3 separate regions of the Homo sapiens genome follow, and regions 1 and 2 are each linked to region 3. The links are contacts of gene promoters, found by promoter capture Hi-C in blood cells and fetal thymus (Javierre and others, 2016). All regions are on one chromosome and are shown on one strand. The core of a region is centred on a gene start or on the middle of the fragment in contact, and the rest is flanking DNA. Distances in the headings are between cores, read along the strand shown.

Region 1 (3,799 bases), core at 633-3,132, 370 kb after region 3:
TTCGTGTTAATCTGTACTGGTGCTGAGGATGGTAAGCGGGGGGGCTGTGCATTTGCCCTCCATATCCACGCTGCACTCACTCCACTCTGTTCTGAGAGGTTGACCTCTAGGGACTGCATTAACAGACTCTCCTGATCCCTGGTTCAGCCAATGGGGGCCCTGAGAGGGAAATCCAAAGATGGGAGGAAGGCATGGCAGGGTATTTATTCCCCACCTTCCTCCCTGCCAAGCTATGGGCTGTCTGTGGCTGTGTCCTTCTGTGAAAACCACAGCTTCTGTCAGGTGGCCCCCGAGCAGCTGCAGTTCCAGGTCTCTTCAAGTTCTGGACTAGTGTGAATACATTGAGACCCGTGATTCCCAGACTCTCTAGGTCTGTGGAACTCTTAACAGGACAACAGTCCATTTGCCTCAGTGGTGCCTACCGGCAACCTAAAAAAAAAAAAAAAATCTCCCATCAGAATGCTGGGTAAGTAGTGTTTATTGACATAAAACAAGGCTGTGGGGGCTTTTTCAGTTCAGAACATGAAATTAAAGAATAGATGCTGCTGGAGAGATTGCTCACTAGCAGGTAAGGAAAGCTCTGGAAGTGGGCCTTCCACTTAGCTGTTTACCAGCTTTGTGATCATGGGCAAATTACTTAATTTCTCTAAGCCTCAGTTTCCTCCTCTGTAAAATGAAAATAATAAGAATTATAATAAGCCCCTCCTCTTAGAACTGTAATGAGGACTGTAAGATAATGTATGTGAAACAGTGTAACACAGGTGCCCAGCACAAAAATAACCTGCAATAAATGCTAGCTATTTAAATATTAAGAGTATAAGTATGTATTCTATAAAATAACTACTTATGGGACATCTAGAACTTTCAAAGTTTTTAGACAATGGCCAACAATGTTTATTTTATTTTTTATTTTTATTATTATATTTTTTGAGACGGAGTCTCACTCTTATCACCCACGCTGAGTGCAGTGGTGTGATCTTGGCTCACTGCAACCTCTGCCTCCCGGGTTCAAGTGATTCTCCTCCCTCAGCCTCCCAAGTAGCTGGGATTACAGGTACTCGCCACGATGCCTGGCTAATTTTTGTATTTTTAGTAGAGACGGGGTTTCGCCGTGTTAGCCAGGCTGGTCTTGAACTCCTGACCTCAGGTGATCCACCCTCCTCGGCCTCGCAAAATGTTGGGATTACAGGCGTGAGCCACCGCGCCTGGCCAGATGTTCATTTTATAGCATGACCTGATGATACCCACAACAGAAAAAAGTAATAGTTATCCTTAAAACCTGCAATGCACTCTGCTATTTTCTCATTTGTTCTATGTCATCAAAAAATGTAGGTCACAACCCCTTAATGGCCTGAGATCCACAACTGGAGAAGCTGTGATCTGGTAGACTTGCCAGGGATCAATGTGATGAAGACTGAGTCATCTCTGGAGGTGACAGGATAGGTAAAGACCATTTCCTGATGTCTTTTAAACAGGTATAATTACATTAATGGGAGAAAAGCAGCTGGGGGTTTTCTCTGCAGAATCTGAAATTCAGACAAGCATTTGAGTGGACTTAGGTATAAGAAACTAGGACTTGGAAAAGGGGACTCAAATGTATAAAACATGGTGCTTGCCCTCAAAGAACGTATAGTTTAGTAGCAGAGCTTAGATTCATTCACTCCTTTATAAAACTGAGTACCTAGTATGTGTGACGAACGTTCTACATCAGTCAACAAGACAGGAGTTCCTGACATTACAAAGCTTAACTTCTTATGGTAGCGACAGGCAATAAACAAATAAATAACCAAATAAGTATAATATGGTTCAGACAGTGGTAATGGCTCTAGAGAAAAGGGGAGTGGAGAGTGTCTGGTAGAAGACATATTCTAGATAAGGTAGTCAGAGAATGCTTCTCTGAGAAAATATTTGACCCAAGACAGGAATGAAGCGAGGGAATGAGCCATGTAAATTCTAAAAGAAATGCACTTCATTTATAGGGACCAGCAAGTGCATAGACTCTGAGGAAGAAATAAGCTTGGAATAGTGTGGAAAGAGGAAGAAGGACAGAGTGACCAGAGCTTAGTGAGCAAAGCAGAGGGTGGTAGGTGTCTGAGAGGTAGACAGGGCCAGATAACGTAGGTCTTGACCTTCATACTAAGTCTTGAATAACATCTGAATGTGATGAGAAACCATTGTAGGGTTTTGAGCAGGAGAGTGACATAATCTATGTTTTAAAAGGATCACTCTGCTGCTCTGGAGAGAAGTGACTAAAGAGGGCGAGAAGGAAACAATGGGGCTGATCAGGAGGCCATCCCAGCAGTCCAGACAAGAGATGATGGTGGCGTGGAATAGGCTGACAGTGATGGAGGTGGTGAGAAGTGGTCCAATTAGCAGTATCTACTTTGAAGGATGATGTCTCTGCATATCCATAATACAACATGGAACGTGAGGTGCCAAGATAGAGTACACGATGTTGTGGAAACTCAGATGAAAATTACATCTGGCTGGGGGATGAGCTGGCACTTGAGCTGTGTTTTCAAGGATGAGTGGGCAGAAATGGTGAGGGAGGAGAGAACTTTCCAAAAAAAGGGAAAAGCATGCAATTGAAGGCAAAAAAGAGGGAAAGTAGAGGGCATATTCAGGGCCCAGAGGTAATTCGGTGGATATGGTGGGCCTGAAAGTGTAGAACAGGAATATAGCTGACCTGGTAGGTTTAGGATAAGTTATTATGGGCCTTGTGTGCCATGATAGCATTTGGGCAACGGAGAGCCACTGCATGTTTCTGAGGATGGTTTTATGTGATCAGCACTGAGCTTTACAAAGTTCTGGGTAACTGGGGCTGAAGGGGAACCTGGAAGCCTCTGCTTTGGGCCTCAGTAGACTCATTCGTCAAGCAGATCTTTGGCCTTCTCAGATCCTGCACCCTTTGTTCCAGCCAAACCAGCTTTCTTCCTGACCAGTGGACTAGCCAGAAACACTCCTTCCTCTCTGCCTTTGCTCATGCAGTTCTCAGCACCCAAAGCTCCTCTCCATTTATCCAGATCTTCCCCCTTCTTTGGCTCCTTGGCCTCTATCGCTCTCTCCTTTCTATCAAAGCACTTGTCTACACTTCTCACGTTGGCTCTTAACCTCACAGACCCACTGACATTTTGTTAAGTATTTCCAGAATATAGGCCTTCTCCCATGAGACAGAAATTCCTGTCGGTCAGGGACATCACCTGGCACTCCCTTTGTTCTCTCCACAGTGTCAGGCACTCAATAGCCATTAAACTGACCATTCCCATTCCTCATAAGTGAGTTTGGAAAGCCAAGGGTAGAAAGGCACTTGTCCAGACACACTGAAATCCAGACACAAAGCCAAAAGGACCCACTTCCTGCCTCCAACTCTCTTCCTATTACTCCACTTCCTGGCCATCCCAGCAATGAACACACTTAGGTTTTGCCTTCCTTGGAACTATCCTAAGGGGAATAACCCTTGCCTTGGGAATAGGATCCCTGTAAAAGTAAAAGCACCAAGTCTCTGATTTCCCTCAGGGAGACAGGGAATGGCCTGGGTCAGATTCCATCGGATTCCATGTCCTCCCCAGTCTGCCTCGCACCTTGCCCCTCCCCCAGTGCTCGGTATTTGGTTGGCGGGTGGCTTCCCCAGCTCCCTAATCCAGGCTGTCTGCCACACCCTATATGGCTTTTCATGGAGAGGGTTTACTTTAGGGGATTCTACTCTGGAGTGCTTGTCCCAGGCAGCCCTCCACCTCGACTTGGTAACCGCCCAATAGGTTCATTTTACCCACTTCCCAGATAGAACAGATTTATCAAC
Region 2 (3,743 bases), core at 522-3,021, 350 kb after region 3:
GGCTGAGTGTTATTGTGTCTGATGTTGAGATCAAGACAGATTCATTTAAAATCACTTAACAACTTTTAAGCAAACCCAGAATCTAGTCCTAACAAGTAAGGTAGCGTTGGAAATGGAAGAAATGCACATCAGAACTTTAAGGGCAGCAGCCAAAATTATGCTGGTGTAACGCCGGCTTCCTGGTGGATTCAATGTCTTTGCTCCTCCCTCCCAGAAGAGGGCGCCTCTCTGCCTTGTTTCTGTCTTGCTCCAGTAATCAAGACAGAGAGGGGCTTGGAAGCTCCGCAGAAACATCTGCAGAAAGTTAGACCTCCATAGCTAGCATCTCCATTTCCCCTACTCCTCAGTCAGGTCCTTTGGAGGATGTCTGGGCTGGAGCTGGTGAAATTGGCTTCCCGAGCTGTCTCATCATCCTGTACTAAGGGCTGTGGTGCCCAATTCCTGTCTGAGCAGTCAAGCTAAAGACCCTGCAAATGAATAGACTGATGTGGAACCTGTCCAAGGTGAAAACCGCCTTCTGCATTGCCAGCTCATTCCAGAGCATCCCAAGCATGAGGAGGACTCGTTCCCCCAATGCTCCCCCAGAGGGCTTGTGGGAGTAGGCTGCTTATCACGAAGCCCTTGAAAAGAACTGAGTCTCCTCTCTTTCAGGGTGAGCGAAGCCCAGAAACTCCTGCCTGCGTCGACTGTCTCCTCCCCAAGCACCACGAAAAATGCCAGTAGGTAATGTACTGGATTTGGAGAAGGAAAAACAGTCCAGCTCCCATGATATCAACCAAGGGAAGTCCCTCAGGGAGGAAGTCTAGGAAAAGGATTCCTCTTTTCCTAAAGGTGTCTTCATCAGGGAGCAGAACTATTTTGGCCTAAGGAAAAGAGGGAGAGAGAAGAAACCAATAGTTTTTCAGCTTCAACTATATGCCAGACACTGTGCCGGACACTTTTACATAAGAAGCTTTATTTAATCCTTAAGGCAATTCTCTAGGTGTCATTATGATAATGGTACCTACCCCTTAGGCTTGTTGAGCATAGAAATCACTCCCAAAACAGTTATTATTTTTCCCATTTGAAAGCTAGGGAAATGGAGACCATAACGTTTAAACAGCTTGTCTAAAAGTCTTAGAACTTGAAGTTACAAAACTAAGGATCAGATCAAATTCATATCTGTATGGCTCCAATACTCATGCCACATCACTCCATCATGTTGCCTCGATTCCAACCTCTGATCTTTAATATTCCAGGTCTATCCCCCAACATGTGGAGTTGGAGGTGTCTGGGACTTTCTCAGACATTTTCTGAATAACGAGACTGATCTATTCCTCCTAAGAAGCCTGTTAGCGAATAGATGCCCCCTGAATAAGGCTCTCTGCCTGTGAGAAGAGACCCCTCCATCCTATTTCAAGGAAAGCCCTAGCTGGTTTAGCCTCATCCAAAACTCAAGGGATTTGCCTGAAACCAACCAGTTTGTGGTGGAGATGCAGTGAACTTGACATTCATTCAGGCTGCTGCATCCAAGCATGCTTCCACTCACACCGAGGATGCCCCTGAGATGGTCCAGGGAAGAATTAGGAACTCCCTGGTCCAGTCTTCCAAGAAACCTTTCCTAAAGTAAGAACAGCAGAAAGTCTACATGCACCTTGAGTTAGCTAGTCATCCTAGTCCTCCGTCGCTCCTTCAGAAACTAGCATCTCTGATTATTTTTCTGATTCTGAAAACTTTATAGGCTGAGCCATTAGCACGGTGGGGGTAGATAGGCCACAGCATGCATAATTCAGGCTATTTCAAGATCCCCTCCCCTTGTTAAATACACATTTTCATCACTTACCCTGATCAAGAAGTATATTCGGTCTTGGAAAGCACTTCTTAGAAGCCAGCATATTTGGAGATTTGAGGGTGAAAGTTTTAAGGACCACTGGATGCTGGAGGAAAGTGACTGTAATTCCACCCCTTCCCCCTTTTTTTTTGGTTGCCATCAACAACTCAAAATAGTCTCAACAGTCTATTCACCTGAAAGTAACATTGTTCAACTTCAGAACAGTTGAGACAATATCTGCTTTTCGCACAACCCCATTATCGATGGGCAAACTCAAATGCCCTCCTCTCAGCCATTCTAACTGCTGGACACCTTGGAGAACCAGATGATAGGTTTTCCCATGCCTTGCTGATAAAAGGCACATTGGAGAGAATGAGAACCTAGAGAGTCACTCAGGAATACCTAGAGTTGGTTTCATGGTGAGGATCTCAGCAAAGACAGGGGAGCTAAAGCAAGCACATGATAGGGGGCTGAGGCTGGGGCAGGGATCAGGATTCCAGCACACTTGAGCTTAGCAGAGGCTAAATAGAAAGGTGTCAGGGGTTGGGAAGCATGGCCACAGAGAGAAAAGAACAATCTGCAGCATGTTTAGAGATACCTGCATAAGTTTAGCCTTAACCTTGTGGTTGAAGGACAGTTGTTTATCTACCTGAATTCAGCAGGCAGAGAGATAGCTCAATCACAAATTCATGGGTGTTGGGTAGGTCTGAATTAGCAGAACTTTTTATTCATTCACTATTAAAGCAGCCTTGCAATTAGCTGCTGATCTACTAAGCTTGGATCACTATATCTGGTAGGCCAAGAGTAAAGAATGGGGATTGTATTTCTTTAATTCCTAGTCTAATAAGTATAGGCTGGGGGACATAGAGGAATAATGGACTAACATATCTGCTGGATAGGCAAGATTTTTTGTACTTATTGGAGAGGCTATTAGTTAAATAATGAATTGGATCTGAATCTTGTCATGAGAAGAGAGACTTCAGTTCACATTTGAAAACCTGGTATCTTCCATCAGTGCTAGCTTACCTATAAAAGTAGAAAGAAAAGGGGAGGGGAGAAAATACACTTTCTAGGTATGGTGGGTTTTCAGAGAGCTACACTTTTTGTAGTAGTGATTGTCTTTGAGAAAGAGACAACAAATTCTGGTTTGGTCAATCCTCAGGATCTGTTTTGGTTTTATAGAGGTCTAAATTAACATTGTGAGGCTGGACTAACATCTATGTCTGGGCTAGGATCCCTGAAGAGCATTTGGGTAAAGAGGGACCAATAGAGGACAAATTTTAGGGCCTAACAGGGTGGATCTGACTCATCAGCACAGGGTTTATCAAAGCACTACAAACCACCCTAGACAGTGCGGGCAAATGCCACTTACCTCACCATCCAGGAACCTGTGGCTCAGGACCCATGAAGAAAAGCCTTGGGTCTCAAATGAAAATGCCCAGTATGAAGCCATTGCAATGTGGTTGAATGAAATGCAAATTTAATTGGAGAAAAAAATCTAGATGATTTCATCCTGTATTCAGGGACAATCCACTTCTGAGGATCTTTCTCTTTCTCCTCCCTAGCCCCCCTATATTCTAAATCTTAGTCCAGTCTTGAGTAAGCTGTTTCACTATATCTGACTGGGAGCAAGGTATTTCTAGTCTTTCCATGTGGTTTCAATTACATCACACTCAGATACACCCTGGGTCCCTTCATTGAGTGTGACTACTCTGGAAAAGTGTCTTGTAACTTCATTTTAGCAGAAAGTAGGATTTGCTATGGTTTTCCTGACAGGAGGCTGAGTGATGGACTGAATCTAGCATGAGGGAGGAATAGGAGAAAGAGAAATTAATGTTAACCCTCTGGACATAATTTGCCAAACAGAGACCAAAGCCACTGCCCATTAGAGGGCACTTTAGAGAAGGAGCTGAGTTGGTGGTGGATGGAGGAA
Region 3 (3,613 bases), core at 289-2,788:
ATGAACAGGAAAGTCAGGGAACAAACAGGTGGCCTGTGGTCAGCTGTGACCAGCTCCACAGGAGCCAGCCCTGAGGCTCAGGCTCCCGGGAGTGCTCAGCAGACCATTTCGCCTACATTCAGCATGGCAAAGGGAAACCAAACAGGCCGAGAAACTAGCCTGCAGTCTGCAATCTGGTTCTGCCACTACAAGCCCTGTTAACTTACCTAACGTCTTGGAGATCAGTTTCCTAGCCTCTACAATGGGAATAGGACCTCTCTCTTGCAGCGCTGTGGGAAGGATAAGGGATTATGTATAAAAGCTCCTAGGACAGTGCCTGCTGAAGCTCAGAAGAAGGGCAGCAAAAACAAAACCGAAACCTGTTTTTCTTCATGCTACCGCTGTTATATTTGCTTCCTCAGCTTTACACGCGATGTAAGCAAAAACAGCTTCACCTCTAATTCCTAGTTCAGATCTAGCACCAGCAAAACAAAGCAACAGGCTGCTGCAGTCACTGAGGCACACTGCCCTTTGCCATGGTCTGGAATTCCTGTCCATGCCTACACCCTGTAGTTTTACTCTATGGCAAGTACCTACTTGCCATTTCAGAAGGGACATTATCTTAATGGTAAAGAAAAGGGCAGTTCTGGCATGTGGTATCTGGAGTGACAGCAAGAAAAACAAAACTGAAGATTTGCTGCTCTCAGACCAAGAAACCCAGGTGGTGGCCCACTCCATCTGCTGTAGAGTAGAAATGTTTCCCTGGAAGACATGGGTGTGACAAGTGAAGAGATCAAATGCACAGCTGCCACACGGGGAGATCATGACCCTCCATTAAGAAAGAGGGACGCTGGAAGACTTGGAACCATCTGCCAGTTCTTTCATTAGTAAGGAATGGAAGATAAATTTCCTAGTGTCATGCATCAAACTGATCACCAAAGCTGGCTGTATCACCTGGCCAGGTATTATTTGCATTAATAGGAGAACAGCTAAGCATTGAAAAGAGGCTTTATTTTATTCCTATGGTGATTTGAACCTCCCTCACAGGAAAGCTTGGTGTGGTGCTCAAATTTTAGAAAGTATTTCATATTTCTTAGAGAAACAAGCCGTGCTCATTTTTTGTTTGTTTGTTTTTTGTTTTTTAAAAGGGCAGGGGGACTACAATGCCAGGAGCCAGAGAGCTTGTCAGAGAACAGCCTGGCCAGGCATGGTGCTCCATCTGAGTGCCGAGTCAGAGCATGCCCAGCCTTTGGCATTTTCCTATGATCATGGACAGCATCAATCTTACAGCCTGGAATGGAAACAGGATAAAAAGCAAGAAGGCACTGTACCTTTCCCCCACTGGCAGACAGAGAAACTCTAACTCTCCCGCCCTATTTTCATCCATTTAAATTCATTTCCTTTCTCTCAGGTTTTCTGTATCTTGGTTTGGAATGAATCTGGTACACGGCTCCTGAGTCAAGAGGTCAAGAAGACACGTGGTTTTATGATGCAACAATGGGCAGCCACTCTGTTTTGTTTTGGGAACCTCAGTGACATCACAGACTAACCCTTGTACCTTGGGACCTTGTATGTAAGAAAACATTGAGTCAGAAGAGAGCGTTAGTCATAGGGCTACTGAAACACAAGGTGACGAGAACTATTAGGCAATTGAGTGCATTCCCTGCAGGGCTGCTCCCACTTCTATCTGACTTGGGTCTAGATGACTCAAGTGATTCCCGAGGGGAAAATAATCTATGTGGAACAGCTGTCATGAGCAGGCCTTCTGCTGCTCTTCAGCCTCAATTTCAGCCTGCTACTTCCCGTGACATCATTCAGTGATTCCTCCCTTTAAGGGGACAGTTTTCTCTTGTATTACAGGTGACTACTTGAAGGTGGCTAGACGAGAGCATACTGCCACCACTCTTTATTTGGAGGCCTGTAACCTGTCTTGAGTGTGTTGCAGGAAGACTCAGTTACAGTGTTCCCTGAATATGTAGCTTTCCATTACAATAGTATGCAAGCCAAGATGAAACCACCTCTGTTTGGGTTTCAGCAGCTGTCTGCCTACGGAAGGCTCCAGAGTCCCTGACGCATATTTATATCTCCACTTCACTGAAGTCACAAGGAACAAACACGTGAGATTTTCTTTTCCCCAGAGGCACAAGTCCATTGATATTTCTTCAAATGAAGGCGGGGCGTGTGGGGGGCGGGGGAGGGCAGGAGGAAAACTGCTTAGAACAAAATCATCCATGAGCACTGCCACATAGATTTTAATTTGCCTAAAGATGATAGCGATTTTGAGCTGTGGTTAGGGATAACTGTTCCCACAGTAGACCTATTACCAACATGAGTTGCTGGCTTTCATTTAATAGGACTCCAAGCTGGCAAACAAACCCCACCATCTTCCCAACAGCCACATCATGAGATCTAGCAGCACCAGCCTCTTGAAGTGGCTTCTCAGTGGAAGGTTTGCTCCGTTTCAGTGAAGCTTCTCTCTCAAAGCTCTGACGTCACCAGGGTGCCCCTCGAGGGTCTGGATAGACTGTCCGAAAGGTCAGGTTCACTCTCGGTTCTCTAGAGTGGTATTCTTTGGGCACTCGATGCTAAATGGAAATACACATAACTCTGACATAAATACACACATACACACTTTTAGTTCAAAGCGACTTAAAACTTATTCATGAGAATGCAGAAATATTTCCATCTCATCCCCCTTAAATGAGTAGTAAGCTCTTTGAAGTCTTGTGGAGAAAGGTCCCTTCTTTGAAACAAATTTCCATCCCCAGCCCCACTGTGCTATGCCAGCACCTCTGAAGTGAGATATTTTCATCTTTTCTAATTGTTGCTGTTCCTCTCAGACACCTGCCATTTCCCAAATCTCATAAAACATATAAATGGATGAGACCAAAGAGAGGCATGAGATTCCATTCTTATGGTAAGTGTTTTGACATTAACATGTGCACCTTAGAAATGATCTGGCCTAAAAATGGCATGGCCTAGCTGCAGAGCTGTGTATTCCAATAAGATAGTCACTAGCTACCCTGAAGCTATTTAAATTTAAGTTAATTAAAATTAAATTAAAAACTCAGTTCTTTATAGCATGCAAGCCACATTTTAAGAAGTCAGTCATATGTGGCTAGTGACTACTACAATAGGCAGCACAGATACTGAACACTTTCATCATCACAGAAAGTTCTACCGGACACACTAGTGTCCACCTGGATTGTCAGTAGTAGCAAAACTCCTTGGAAAGAATGTCAGCTCATTCCCTCTTGCTCGTTGTAAAAGCAGCTTGCTTTTCACCATGTCTACTTAGAAATAGTCCTCAGAGTCAGGAAACTGCCTCCACATGAAAGCAGATTCATATTACTTGCAGATCCTCACCTGCCAGTCAGCTTGTGTCGCTCCTTCCATGATTAACAAGGTCCCATGATCCAAGGGTATCTTCACTCTTTCCACATATGTGTAGTCTCCATTCTCTTCCTAGAAAACAGCATTTGTTGTAATAAATGTTTTGCCTGTGTAATCAAGATGCAACAGAACCTGACAGAGGTCAAAAAAAAATGGAAACCTCTGCTCAGCCAGACTGTGGGAATCCATATATAGCTCTGTCATTTGGCAGCTGCTTGACTGTTGGCAAGTTACCTCATCT

The links. The method cuts DNA at HindIII sites, captures the fragments that hold promoters and counts their contacts. A CHiCAGO score of 5 or more calls a contact.
Region 1: a contact is called between a fragment that was not itself captured here and the fragment with the promoter of ALKBH3-AS1 in region 3, in 1 of 17 cell types (neutrophils). The highest score is 5.7, in neutrophils.
Region 2: a fragment that was not itself captured here is called in contact with the fragment with the promoter of ALKBH3-AS1 in region 3 in 1 of 17 cell types (neutrophils); the score reaches 5.0 in neutrophils.

What each region holds. Positions count from the first base shown.
Region 1 is chr11:43,549,605-43,553,403 of GRCh38, reverse strand. No RefSeq gene overlaps it. Among named protein-coding and RNA genes, the nearest start is that of MIR670, 8.2 kb to the left of the region's middle. The HindIII fragment of the contact is 273 bases long and covers 1,746-2,018 here.
Region 2 is chr11:43,569,926-43,573,668 of GRCh38, reverse strand. The region is part of intron 2 of LOC124902807 (potassium/sodium hyperpolarization-activated cyclic nucleotide-gated channel 4-like); the gene reads left to right. MIR670HG (MIR670 host gene) reads right to left here. Exons shown (of 2, transcript NR_131246.1): 2 at 3,269-3,743. It also overlaps a transcript of HSD17B12 not described here. Among named protein-coding and RNA genes, the nearest start is that of MIR670HG, 2.5 kb to the right of the region's middle. The HindIII fragment of the contact is 1,633 bases long and covers 955-2,587 here.
Region 3 is chr11:43,918,869-43,922,481 of GRCh38, reverse strand. It overlaps ALKBH3-AS1 (ALKBH3 antisense RNA 1), which reads left to right and starts at 1,538. Exons shown (of 6, transcript NR_038907.1): 1 at 1,538-1,608; 2 at 2,018-2,096; 3 at 2,820-2,896. It overlaps ALKBH3 (alkB homolog 3, alpha-ketoglutarate dependent dioxygenase), which reads right to left. Exons shown (of 10, transcript NM_139178.4): 9 at 3,346-3,444; 10 at 2,208-2,564. The coding sequence ends at 2,472. It also overlaps a transcript of ACCSL not described here. RefSeq lists an enhancer at 1,057-2,256. The HindIII fragment of the contact is 1,418 bases long and covers 1,034-2,451 here.